Linked DNA regions of Homo sapiens: all the other regions are linked to region 3. Evidence: promoter capture Hi-C in 16 types of primary human blood cells and fetal thymus (Javierre and others, 2016). All regions are on one chromosome and are shown on one strand. Each heading gives the region's core, a stretch centred on a gene start or on the middle of the fragment in contact. The rest is flanking DNA. Distances are from core to core; before and after follow the strand shown.

Region 1 (3,822 bases), core at 909-3,408, 47 kb before region 3:
GCAACCACCACCCTGATCAGTCAGTAGCCATCAACACTGAGGCAAGATCTTCCACCAGGAAAAAGATTATGACTCACTGAAGCTCTGATGATCATTAGTATCTTTTAGCAGTAAAGTTTTAAATTAAGATATGTACATTTTTTAAACATAATGCTACTGCACCCTTAAGAGTATAGCGTAAACATAACTTTTGTATGCACTGGGAAACCAAAAAATTCATATGACTCTTTTCACTGAGATATTCGCTTTACTTCAGTAGTCTGAAAATGAACCAGCAATATTTCTGAAGTATGCGTTTATTTTTTTACATTTGTTTACAATTTTGTCTAACAGAATTTCTTGCATTTTCAACCTAAAAATACATTTTACTCTAGCAATACTTCTACTGTATTTTCATGCATATAGGTCTTAAAACAATTTTTAGTGCTATCAATAAGAGCTAAGGACCTGAAGTTAGGTCATTTTTAATCTAATCACATGGAATTGGTACTAGCAGTATAATACTGAATGTTACCAAACACAAGAGACAAGAGTCAAATTCTTAGAAAAGATTTATTATCAGGATGTAAAAACGTAAGTGGTCAAGTAAACAGATTTCTTTAGTTTTAAAAGAGTAGAAGCAAAATCTAAGTAAAAACAATGTTTACAAATTTTAAGGCAGTAACATTAAAACTGTAAATTTTAAAAACTGGAACAATGGCACACATTATCCAAGGAGATGTGATCTTTTATAATAACAAGAATGTAAATTTCTGAAAGGTTTTAATACTCAAGATAGAAAAAAAAAATCCCTACCACTAATACATGAAAGTTGGGTAGGAAAACTCAATTGCTACAGCTTTAATTTTCACTTTTAAATTTTACTTATTTTTATCTACCCTTTTAAAAGAGTGGTTCTCAACCAGAGGATTTAAAGTCTGGCAAGCTCCAGCTCCAAATCCTCCTCTTAGAAGTTGTGTGACCTCAAGCTAATCACTTAAACACTATGAAGCTCCACTTTCTCATCCATAAAACTGACACAGCAGGGCTGTTACTTGCTATTATGGGATAAAATAGAAGAGTATTCAAGAGGACTCTGTAAACTGTGAAGCATTACACAAATGTCACGTATTATTATTTATGTTACTCAGATCTATAAAAACTAGCCAAAAAGTGACCTAATGGAGAATATAATCTCTGCAAAATCTAGCAGAGCTCATGTTTAAAATACAGTCATGCATCACTTACTAACACAGATATGTTCTGAGACATGTGTTAAGCAATTTAGTTTTTGTGGAACATCATAGAGTGTACTTATATAAACCTAGAGTGTAGAGCCTACTACATAACTAGGCTATATGGTATATAGCCTATTGCTCACCGACTACAAACCTGTATAGCATATTACTGTACTGAATACTCTAGGCAACTGCAACACAATGTTAAGTATCTGTGTTATATAAATACATCTAAACATAGAAAAAGTACAGTAAAAATATGTTCTAAAATATTATAAAGTGGCCGACCTGGATAGGGCACCTACAATGAACAGAGCTTAGAAGACTGGAAGTTGCTCTGGGTGAGTCAGTGAGTGAGTGACGAGTGAACGTGAAGGCCTAGGACATTACTGTACACTACCGTAGACTTTATAAACACTGTACACCTAGGCTACCCTAGATTTATTTTAAAATATTTTTCTTCCTTCAATAATAAATCTCAGCTTTCTGTATTTTTACTTTATATACTTTTAAATTTAACTTTGTGACTCTTTTATAAGAACACAGCTTAAAACACAAACACATTGTACAGTGTACAAAAATATTTTCTTTTTTATATCCTTATTCCACAATCTTTTTTCTATTTTTTAAATTTTTTAAACTTTTTTTTGTGTGACAAGGTCTCACTCAGTCACCCAGGCTGGAGTGCAGTGGCACATAGCTCACTTCAGCCTCAACTTCCCAGTCTCAATCAATTGTCTCACCTCAGACTCCCAAGCAGCTGGGACTACGGGTGTGCATTGCCACACCCAGCTAATTTTTGTATTTTTTGTTGATGAGGGTTTCGCCAAGTTGCCCAGGCTGGTCTCAAACTCCTAGGCTGTGATCCTCCCACCTCAGCCACCCAAAGTACTGGAATTATAGGCATGTGCCACCGTGCATAGCTAGCTTTTTTATTAAAAACTGCAACACAAACACGCACACTAGCTTAGGCCTACAAAGGGTCAGGATCGTCAATATCATTGTCTTCCACCTCCACATTTGTCCCACTGGAAGGTCGTCAAGGGCAATAACACACATGGAGCTGTCATCTCCTATGATAACAAATGCCTTCTGGAATACCTCCTGAAAAGATCTGCCTGAGGCTGTTTTACAGTTAATTTGTTTTTTATAAGTAGAAAGAATACACTCTAAAATAATAATTAAGATTAATAAATATACAAATCAGTAATATAGTCATTACCATTATCAAGTATTATATACTGTACATAATTGTATGTGTTAGACTTGTACACAACCGACAGAGTATTGGATATGTTTACACCAACACTGCCACAAACACCGAGTAGTGCAACCTTACGACAGCTACCATGTCACTAGATGACAGAAATTTTTCAGCACCATTGTATACACATGCAGTCTGTTGCTGGCCAAAATGTTGTTATGCAGCATATGACCATCTTTAAAGAAAGTGAAAACAACCCAATTACTATACCATCCAGACTAAGTGATTATTTTTAACATATTTTGGAATTTCCTTTACGTGGAAATGTTCATCTATTTCTTAAATAATGGGGATCACATCATATATGTCATTTTATATTCTACTTTTTAAATTTGCTATTTCAAAGTGTGTGATATCAGTAAACAGCCTTCAAAAAACCTAATTTTAATGTTTATGCAATATTTAAAAATACTATCATTTGAAAATGTATTTAATGATTCCCCTATTTTGAGCATGTGTGATGCTTCCATTTGTTAGTTATTAAAGTCACTTGCTGTCTTTGCTTCCTCTCTACCTGTGCTCTTTTTAACCCATTATATGCTAGGTTTCTATTTGTAACACTCCAAAGAAACCATTATGGCAAAAGTCACCAGTGATCTTCAAATAGCCAAAATCACAGGACACCGCAATTATAAAACATGACTGTGGACTTTAGAATTAGATACATCTGAGTTCGAATTCTGTCTTTACCACTGAGAAGCTATGTGAACACAGGCAAGTTATTTAATTCTCCATGATTGTTTTCTCCTCTGTAAAATGAACCTCATTTTTACAGATGTGATTTACTCAGGATGGCTGGAAAATCAGATGAGCTATATACCTAAGAACTTGGGAGAAAGGGCAGGTATGCAGTAAGCACACAGTAAGTGCTAGGTATAATCTTTTTAAATTCTTGACCAGCCACTTCTTTTTAAAATTCTCTCCTCTCTTGGCTTCTAGAATATTCTTTTCAGAGTCCTCTCCTACCTGCCTAATAGTTCTTCTTTACTTGTGTTGCTAGTCTTCAAGGTTCTTGTGTTACCCTTTATCTAACTTCATTCTCCTGAAAGTCCTTGGATGACTCTATCCTAGTGTTTCTCATAACTCTCCAGCTTCTCTTTTGTTGACCTGCTAACATTCCCCTACTCACTGTTAAATGTTGTAGTTCCTCAGCATAGACAACTTCTTCCTCCTCTCTACTCTCTTCCTTGCTATTTCATTCATGGATTAAGAATTCAACTACCAACTATACACAGTTGATTTACAACATTTATTTCTAGCCCAAACCTCTCCTCTGAATTTCAGGCTTATTTGATGTGGGTCTATTTGTTATCACTTGACTGCCTATTTGATATATCCTCT
Region 2 (3,389 bases), core at 691-3,190, 51 kb after region 3:
AGAAAATGTACCATATATTCTCACTCCAGTCCACAGAACTGTCAGCCAAGCCCCCAGGCTTCAGGCCATCCCTGGCTTGAAGGTGGGGCTTCACTGGGAACCCGCCCCGTTTCTCCCAGGAGCCTGTCTGCTTCCTGCTGCCATCAACCTGCCATCCCTGAACAGCAGAGGCTGTTCATGCCTACGGGTGCCTACAGGCCCATGCAGAGCTGCCCTTAACCCTCCTTGGCCTCCCTCCCATGCTTGTCGGAGCCCAAAGTCCAGAGGGGGCCCAAGTGGCAGGTGGCTGGTGTCAGCACTGCCCAGAGCATGCTCACACCCAGCCAGGTCAAGACAGTGTCTGGGCTAGGCCACAGCCTTGCTCCAAAATTGGAGCAGGGGCCAGGAGTCTGGAGAGGCCAGGCAGTGGGAGCAGGCACTTCCGAGCCTGTGGGGGCACAGGAACTTCCTGGCCCCCGAGAGTGCAGAGATGCCCAGGTCCACAGCTGCTGCTGTGCAGCCACAGCTGCACCGGGGAGCATGAGGCTCCCTCACTCTGCCAACTCAGAAGGGCTTCTGCCTGTTGCCAGCTCTTGTCCGCTCTGTGGAGCATGCAGCCCTGGCTGAGCCTCCCCTGCTGCGGCCAGCATCATGGCAGTGGCCCCTCCAGATGGGCCACCACTGTCATCAGTTGCAATTCCAGTGGCCATCTTATAACCTTGAGGATGAAAGACATGTATTAAGAAAGGCCTAGGCCTAGATTCCTGTTGTCTTTGTGGAACTCCTTATCAGTGTGGATCACCCATTTCTGAACATTTTTTCTGTAAAATAATATACTCTTAGACATTTAAGTCATTGTAGTTAGGTCTCTATTTCTAGGAGCTGACAACATTTCTAGATAATATGATACATCTCTGCAATCAGACATCAATGGTCCTTCCTGAAATACTTTGGTTTATTTCGTGTGGATGTAATATAAGGAGAAATTATATAAGAATATCTTTGCTTAAAATGATAGATATTTCTCTTTATTTTTCCTCATTTATGAATTTTAGGTGAGAAGCAATCAATAATGCTGGCCACTACTACCTCAACTTTTTAATCTCATCTTTTCCATACTATGACAAACAATTTAGATAGGTCAATGTGTGGCAGTTTAGAATCACAAAGCTTTGCCAATATGAGCTTGTAGAGATCCTCAACTTTTTACCTTCTGTTTATGTTTACTATTACTGTCCCATTTTAGGCCATCATCATTTAGTCAGTTACTTGGGGCTTCCTGTATCTAAATCTTTTTCACTAAGCCCAATTATCTGTACTGACATCTAATAACCATTCAACATACATTCTGATTTTTAAAATTACTTTAAAAACAACTACCTAAATGAACTGGAGAGTAACTAAAATCAGGCAGAAGTTGGATATAACACTTAAAGGAAAAAAAGTGGCAACAGATGAGATACAACACTAGAAAGAAATTAGCTATCAAGTCATCAAAAGACATAGAGAAACCTTAAATGCATATTACTAAGTGAGAAAAGCCAATCTGAAAAGGCTACACATACTGTATGATTCCAAATATATGACACTCTGGGAATGACAAAATTAAAGACACCAAAAAAGATCAATGGTTGCCAAAAGTTGTGGAGAGGGAGGGATGAATTGACAGAACACAGAGGATTTTTAGGGCAGTGAAACTATTCTGTATGATACTACAATGCTGAATAAATGTCATTATATATTTGTCAAAATCCATAGAATGTACAACACCAAGAGTGAGTTCTAGTGTAAACTATGCATTTTGGGTGATAACAATGTGTCGGTGTAAGCTCAATTGTAACAAATGTTCTAATGTGGTGTGAAATGTCCATAGTTGGGGAGATTATGTGTGTGGGGACAGGAGTATATGGGAAGTCTCTCAACTTTCTGATCAATTCTGCTGTGAACCTAAAACTGCTCTAATAAATAAAGTTTATTAATTTAAAAATTTTATAATCTTCCAAGAAATATGATAGAATCCAAAGTCTCTACAATATGATTTTTACAAGAACACTTAGAAAATTACTACATATGGGCCATACTTACAAGAAAAGACAATCAATGAAGACTAACCTCATGATGTTGGGATTAGCAGAGGATTTTAAAGCAGCTGTTATGCTGTGCTCAAGGATGTGAGAGAAAATATGCTCATAATGATTGAACAAATAGGAAATATCAGAGAAAAAACTAAAAAAAAATATTTGATATTTAAAAAATACTGTGTGGGCTTAACAGCAGTTTAAAGATGATGAAAGTCACTCAACTTGAGGATACAGCAATCAAAATTATCTACTCGGAGAAACAGAGAGAAAGAAAGCTGTAAATTAAACTGAAAAAAAAAAAACCCTCAGGGTACTGTGAGACAATTGAAAAAAATCTAATATATGTAAATTAGATTTCTAGAAAGAGAAGCAAGTGGGAATGAACCTGAAAAAATATTTGACTTAATAATTTGTTAAAAAACATAAATGTACAAAATCAAGAACTCAGACAACCTCAACTAGAAAAATATGAAGAAAATAATATCATAATCAAATTGCTGCAAATCAAAGAGAAAAAGAAAATCTTGAATGTGGCCAGAGTAAAATGACACATCACATATAGGAGAATCATGATATGAGTGACTGCCAACTTTTCTTCAGAAACAGTGGAGACCAAAAAGACAGTGGCACAACACTTTTGAAAGGCTGGAAGAAAAGTACTATAAAGCTTATATCCATGGAAAAGATCCTTCAAAAATAAGAAATACACATATTTTCAAATAAATATAAACTAAACCTTACACCAAAGAAATAAAAATGTATATGTATAAATAGATATGTACAAGAATGCTTGTAGCAGCTTTATTCTTAATTCTTAAAGCAAAACAGTATCTACAAGAGCATGGATAAAATGTTGGTATATTCATGCAATGGAAACTACTCAAAAATAAAAATGAATGCAATACAGATATATACAACATGGATGAATCTCTAAAACAATGCTGAGTGAAAGAAAGCTTATGCAAAACAGTACATACTGTATGATTCTATTTACAGATTCTATTTTAGAACAGTGGTTGTCTATGGGTGGAGGGGTGGGCATTCACTGTGAAGGGAACATGAGGCAACTTTTGTGGTGATGGTATTTTTTTGTATTTTCTGTCTCAGGTTAGTCATTTGTTCAAACTCATGGAATAGTACACTTAAGAAATGTGCATGTCACTATATGTAAATTTTATCAAGACATAATATAAACAAATAAGGAACTCATGTTAATGACAACAAAACTATAATCATAACACTTCTACATATCATAGTGCCTTATTCACTCTTTTGTCACACTTATTAAGTGTAATGTGCTCAGCTAAACATTCCATTACCATGGAAGGA
Region 3 (3,447 bases), core at 622-3,121:
TAACAGTGTTTTGGGTAGTGACGTCTGTAGGAAAAATGAAACAAGTTTCACTGCTGATATTATTCAATATTTATATCATTTTATTTTTGCTAACATTTACAAACCTAGAAATGCCTTTCAAACCATCAAAAGGGTGTACACTGACAACTTGAAAAACGCTTTCCATACTGGGAGAAACAGTATTTCCCAAGTTGTTGAGAAAAGCTGATAAATTTTCAAAGAATTCGGAATATGGACCTTTTGTAGGTTTTAAGGAATGCAAACCAATTGAAAATGGAAGCCTCATGAGCTTTTATCTTAGAAAAATGCAAAATTACATACTTTAGGATCTCATCTTACAGTTCCTTCATATTTGCCAAAATGTACTTATTAATAGAAAGTCTTGGCTTATAACCTGTCTTACATGTGCAAATAGATTTGAAAGTTGAAACCTGGGACTAACATACCTAAATTTGTAAAATTTTATAAACCATAAACTGCATCACCAGTGCTATGTATTGTTTTTCTCCTCTCCCTCAGTAAATGGGCTGAAAGTTTGTAGAATGACATGCTACCTAGCTGCAACAGCACAACAGCAGAGTCAACTATTGCTCAGTCCATCTTTAACTAAGGTTTACAACAGGAATCTCCAACGTCACCACCAGAATACACAAAGAAAAATATATTTAAAAATTGACACTGAAAATATAGAGGAACACATTTCACTTTTTTCAACATAGTTACCAAAGTTTACACAGTTAAGCTGGAAAACCTTGTATTTAACGAAAAATAATTTTTCAAACAAGATTAGAATTTGTTCTACTAAAACTACCTCTGTTTCCCCTCTAACCAAAAAAAAAAAAAAAAAAAAAAAAAAGAAAGAAAGAAAGAAAGAAAAAGTGGGGATTACCAAAAAATACAGTCATTTTTAATACTAACATAATGGAAAAGGACAAAATGACAAGGTTAACGAGCAGAGAGACAAGATCAGCATTATGGCTAGTCTTTCTCTACAGTTCCACAATTCCTAACCCACATTTTTGCCAAATCCACATCCCACCCCACGCAGTACTTACACCTCCACCCACCTACTCACCCACCCCATTTATGACGGCGATCACCTTCCGGGCAGGTATGTGAAGTCAGCCCCATTTCCAGTAGACAATCGACTAGAATGTCTCAGGAGTGACTGAGTCAGAGAATAAGAAAATGATAAAGTGAGAAATTAAAACGGATACAAGTTGTAAGGTGTGTGGAGGGAGGGCGTCTCACAGCGGGGCTAAGGGTGCGGGTGAGGAGCTAAGCAGACTTGGGGCGAGAGAGAAGGGTTTCGAAGGAGTCCTAGGCAGGAGTGCGCAGGTGAGGCGAGTGAAGCAGCTCCAGCCAGAAGATCCAAAAAAACAAAACAAAACACAACAAAAAAAAGCCACAGCTTTTCCTCCGGGAATAACCTGAGGAAAGGGACTCTCGGGACGCCGCGGCGGGAGGCAGTCCCGGGAGGCACAGGAGGCCGGGAACTCACCACCTGGTAGCGCCCAGTCCCCGGCTGGTGGTGATCCATCCTGCCCGGCTCGGGATCCGGCTTCCGAGAGAGGGAGTCTTCTCCGTGCTCAGCTCCCACGGCCACCCCCGTCGACGACGTCGTCGCCGCAGGGCCCCTTCCGCCTCCGTTCCTGCAGCCGCGGTCTCCCGGCGGAAGCTCTTCACTTCCTGTGGCTCCCGCAGCGGCCGCCGAGACCTCCGCGTTGGTCGCGGTTCCGCGGAGAAGCTCCGGGGCGCCGCGCGCGCTATTGAGCATGCTCGGACCGCTCGCGCAGACTCGCTGGCTCCGCCGGCGTGCCATCCGCGCCGCCAGTGGGAGGGTATAGCTGGGTGGGAGGAGATGGAAAAGTAAGGCAAGTCCGGGGGAGCTGTCTAGGTTGTCAACCTGTCGAGTGGGCGGTCGCAAAAGGCGCGCGGGGGGCGGGAATGACCCGTCCTTGATTGGTCTTTTCTGTGTGCGCGAGTTTCGCGCAGGCACGAGCCAGTGCGCCTTCTCACCACACAGAGACAGAGGCTGACAAGGGATGGGGCCGCGTTCCTAGAACACCTGAGGACAGGTCGCCCGGGTACCCGACACTTCCTCACCCAGCGTAGGACATGGGGAGGAGATTCATCTCTAGAACATTCCCAAAACGCTTATTCAAAATCATTCGTAAGATAAGCGATTTTTTAAAGACTAATATAGAGTAGTTAGAGTTTACAGAAAAATTGAGAAGTTACAGAGATATCCCATATACACTTGGCTCCTACGCATGCATAACCCCCCACCATTATCAACATCCCCCCTCAGAGTGGTACATGTGTTACGACTGATGAACCTGCATTGACACCTCATCATCACTCAAAGTCCATAGTTACCTCAGGGTTCACTCAGGTTGTTGTATACTCCTCGAGTTAGAACAAATGTGTAATGGCAGGTATCCATCATTATAGTATCCTACAGAGTATTTCCACTGCCCTGAAATTCTTCTGTGGGGTAATTTTTGTTTTTGTTTGTTGTTTTTTTAGAGATGGGGTCTCACTATATTGCCCAGACTGGAGTGCAGTGGCTGTTAGCAGGCGCAGTCATGGCTCACTGTAGCCTCGAACTCCTCGGCCCAAGCTATCCACCTGCCTCAGCCTCTGGAGTAGCTGAGACTACAGGCACTAGCTCTTTGGTTACTTTTTAAACTCTTTTTTCCACTTTTTGGTAATAAGAGATTTAAAAATCCAACGGACTCTCCAGACAACTCTCAAAGAAAGAGGTCTCTAGAGTTCTAGGTTACTGGAAGGACGTTAGAAGAAAGTAATGAAATCAGATAGGATTATTTTGTGGTAATACTCAATAATTCCAATTGATTTAACAGCAAGGAATCACTTGGGAGCACTGTTAGTAGTATCTCACTGTCTGGTTAACCACACATGACACGGCATAAAGCATATTTCTCTAGCAAGTAGAAGAGTATGACAGAGCAGCGAAAAGTACCTTTTAACCTGAAGACCAACGTTCTATACCCTAAAAACTATGATGCTGCTTGATGTGGCCCAGCTATGTTTTTAACATAACACCACATTTTCCCTAAATGATCTTACAGTGGAGCGCCCTGAAGGGAAGGAAAGGGATCTGGAGCCCCATTTATTTCCTTCATGAATGTCCAGAGGAGATCCTTGAAATGAAGACTGCCACTGGGTGAGCCTAATCAACTGGTTAAAATAGCAAGATAGAATAAAAACAGAAACTCTTTGAGAGATTGACAACTAAAAAATGTAAGCCTTCCTCATAGTTCTTTTTAAAGCATTCATCAACTCTTCCTATTTGTGCCGTTTTGACATGTCTAATAGCATAAAGCATTACTGTGCTAACAATAAGAGGCAGTGATATCTCATACTTAAATATTGTTAAACTTGCCTTGTTTTGATCTTAATGTATTTTAGTTTCTAAGCCAA

What was found. Contacts are between HindIII fragments. The CHiCAGO score rates a contact against its expected background, and 5 or more counts as called.
Region 1: a contact is called between a fragment that was not itself captured here and the fragment with the promoter of NDFIP2 in region 3, in 1 of 17 cell types (activated CD4 T cells). The highest score is 11.4, in activated CD4 T cells.
Region 2: a fragment that was not itself captured here is called in contact with the fragment with the promoter of NDFIP2 in region 3 in 1 of 17 cell types (activated CD4 T cells); the score reaches 13.6 in activated CD4 T cells.

What each region holds. Positions count from the first base shown.
Region 1 is chr13:79,526,302-79,530,123 of GRCh38, reverse strand. The region is part of intron 2 of NDFIP2 (Nedd4 family interacting protein 2); the gene reads right to left. Among named protein-coding and RNA genes, the nearest start is that of LINC01068, 39 kb to the left of the region's middle. The HindIII fragment of the contact is 5,984 bases long and covers 1-3,822 here.
Region 2 is chr13:79,429,173-79,432,561 of GRCh38, reverse strand. It overlaps LOC105370274 (a long non-coding RNA gene), which reads left to right and starts at 3,224. Exons shown (of 4, transcript XR_942112.2): 1 at 3,224-3,389. The HindIII fragment of the contact is 1,578 bases long and covers 1,152-2,729 here.
Region 3 is chr13:79,479,579-79,483,025 of GRCh38, reverse strand. NDFIP2 (Nedd4 family interacting protein 2) reads right to left here and starts at 1,871. Exons shown (of 8, transcript NM_019080.3): 1 at 1,502-1,871. The coding sequence starts at 1,822. It overlaps NDFIP2-AS1 (NDFIP2 antisense RNA 1), which reads left to right and starts at 1,795. Exons shown (of 3, transcript NR_046685.1): 1 at 1,795-1,874; 2 at 3,096-3,190. The HindIII fragment of the contact is 10,753 bases long and covers 1-3,447 here.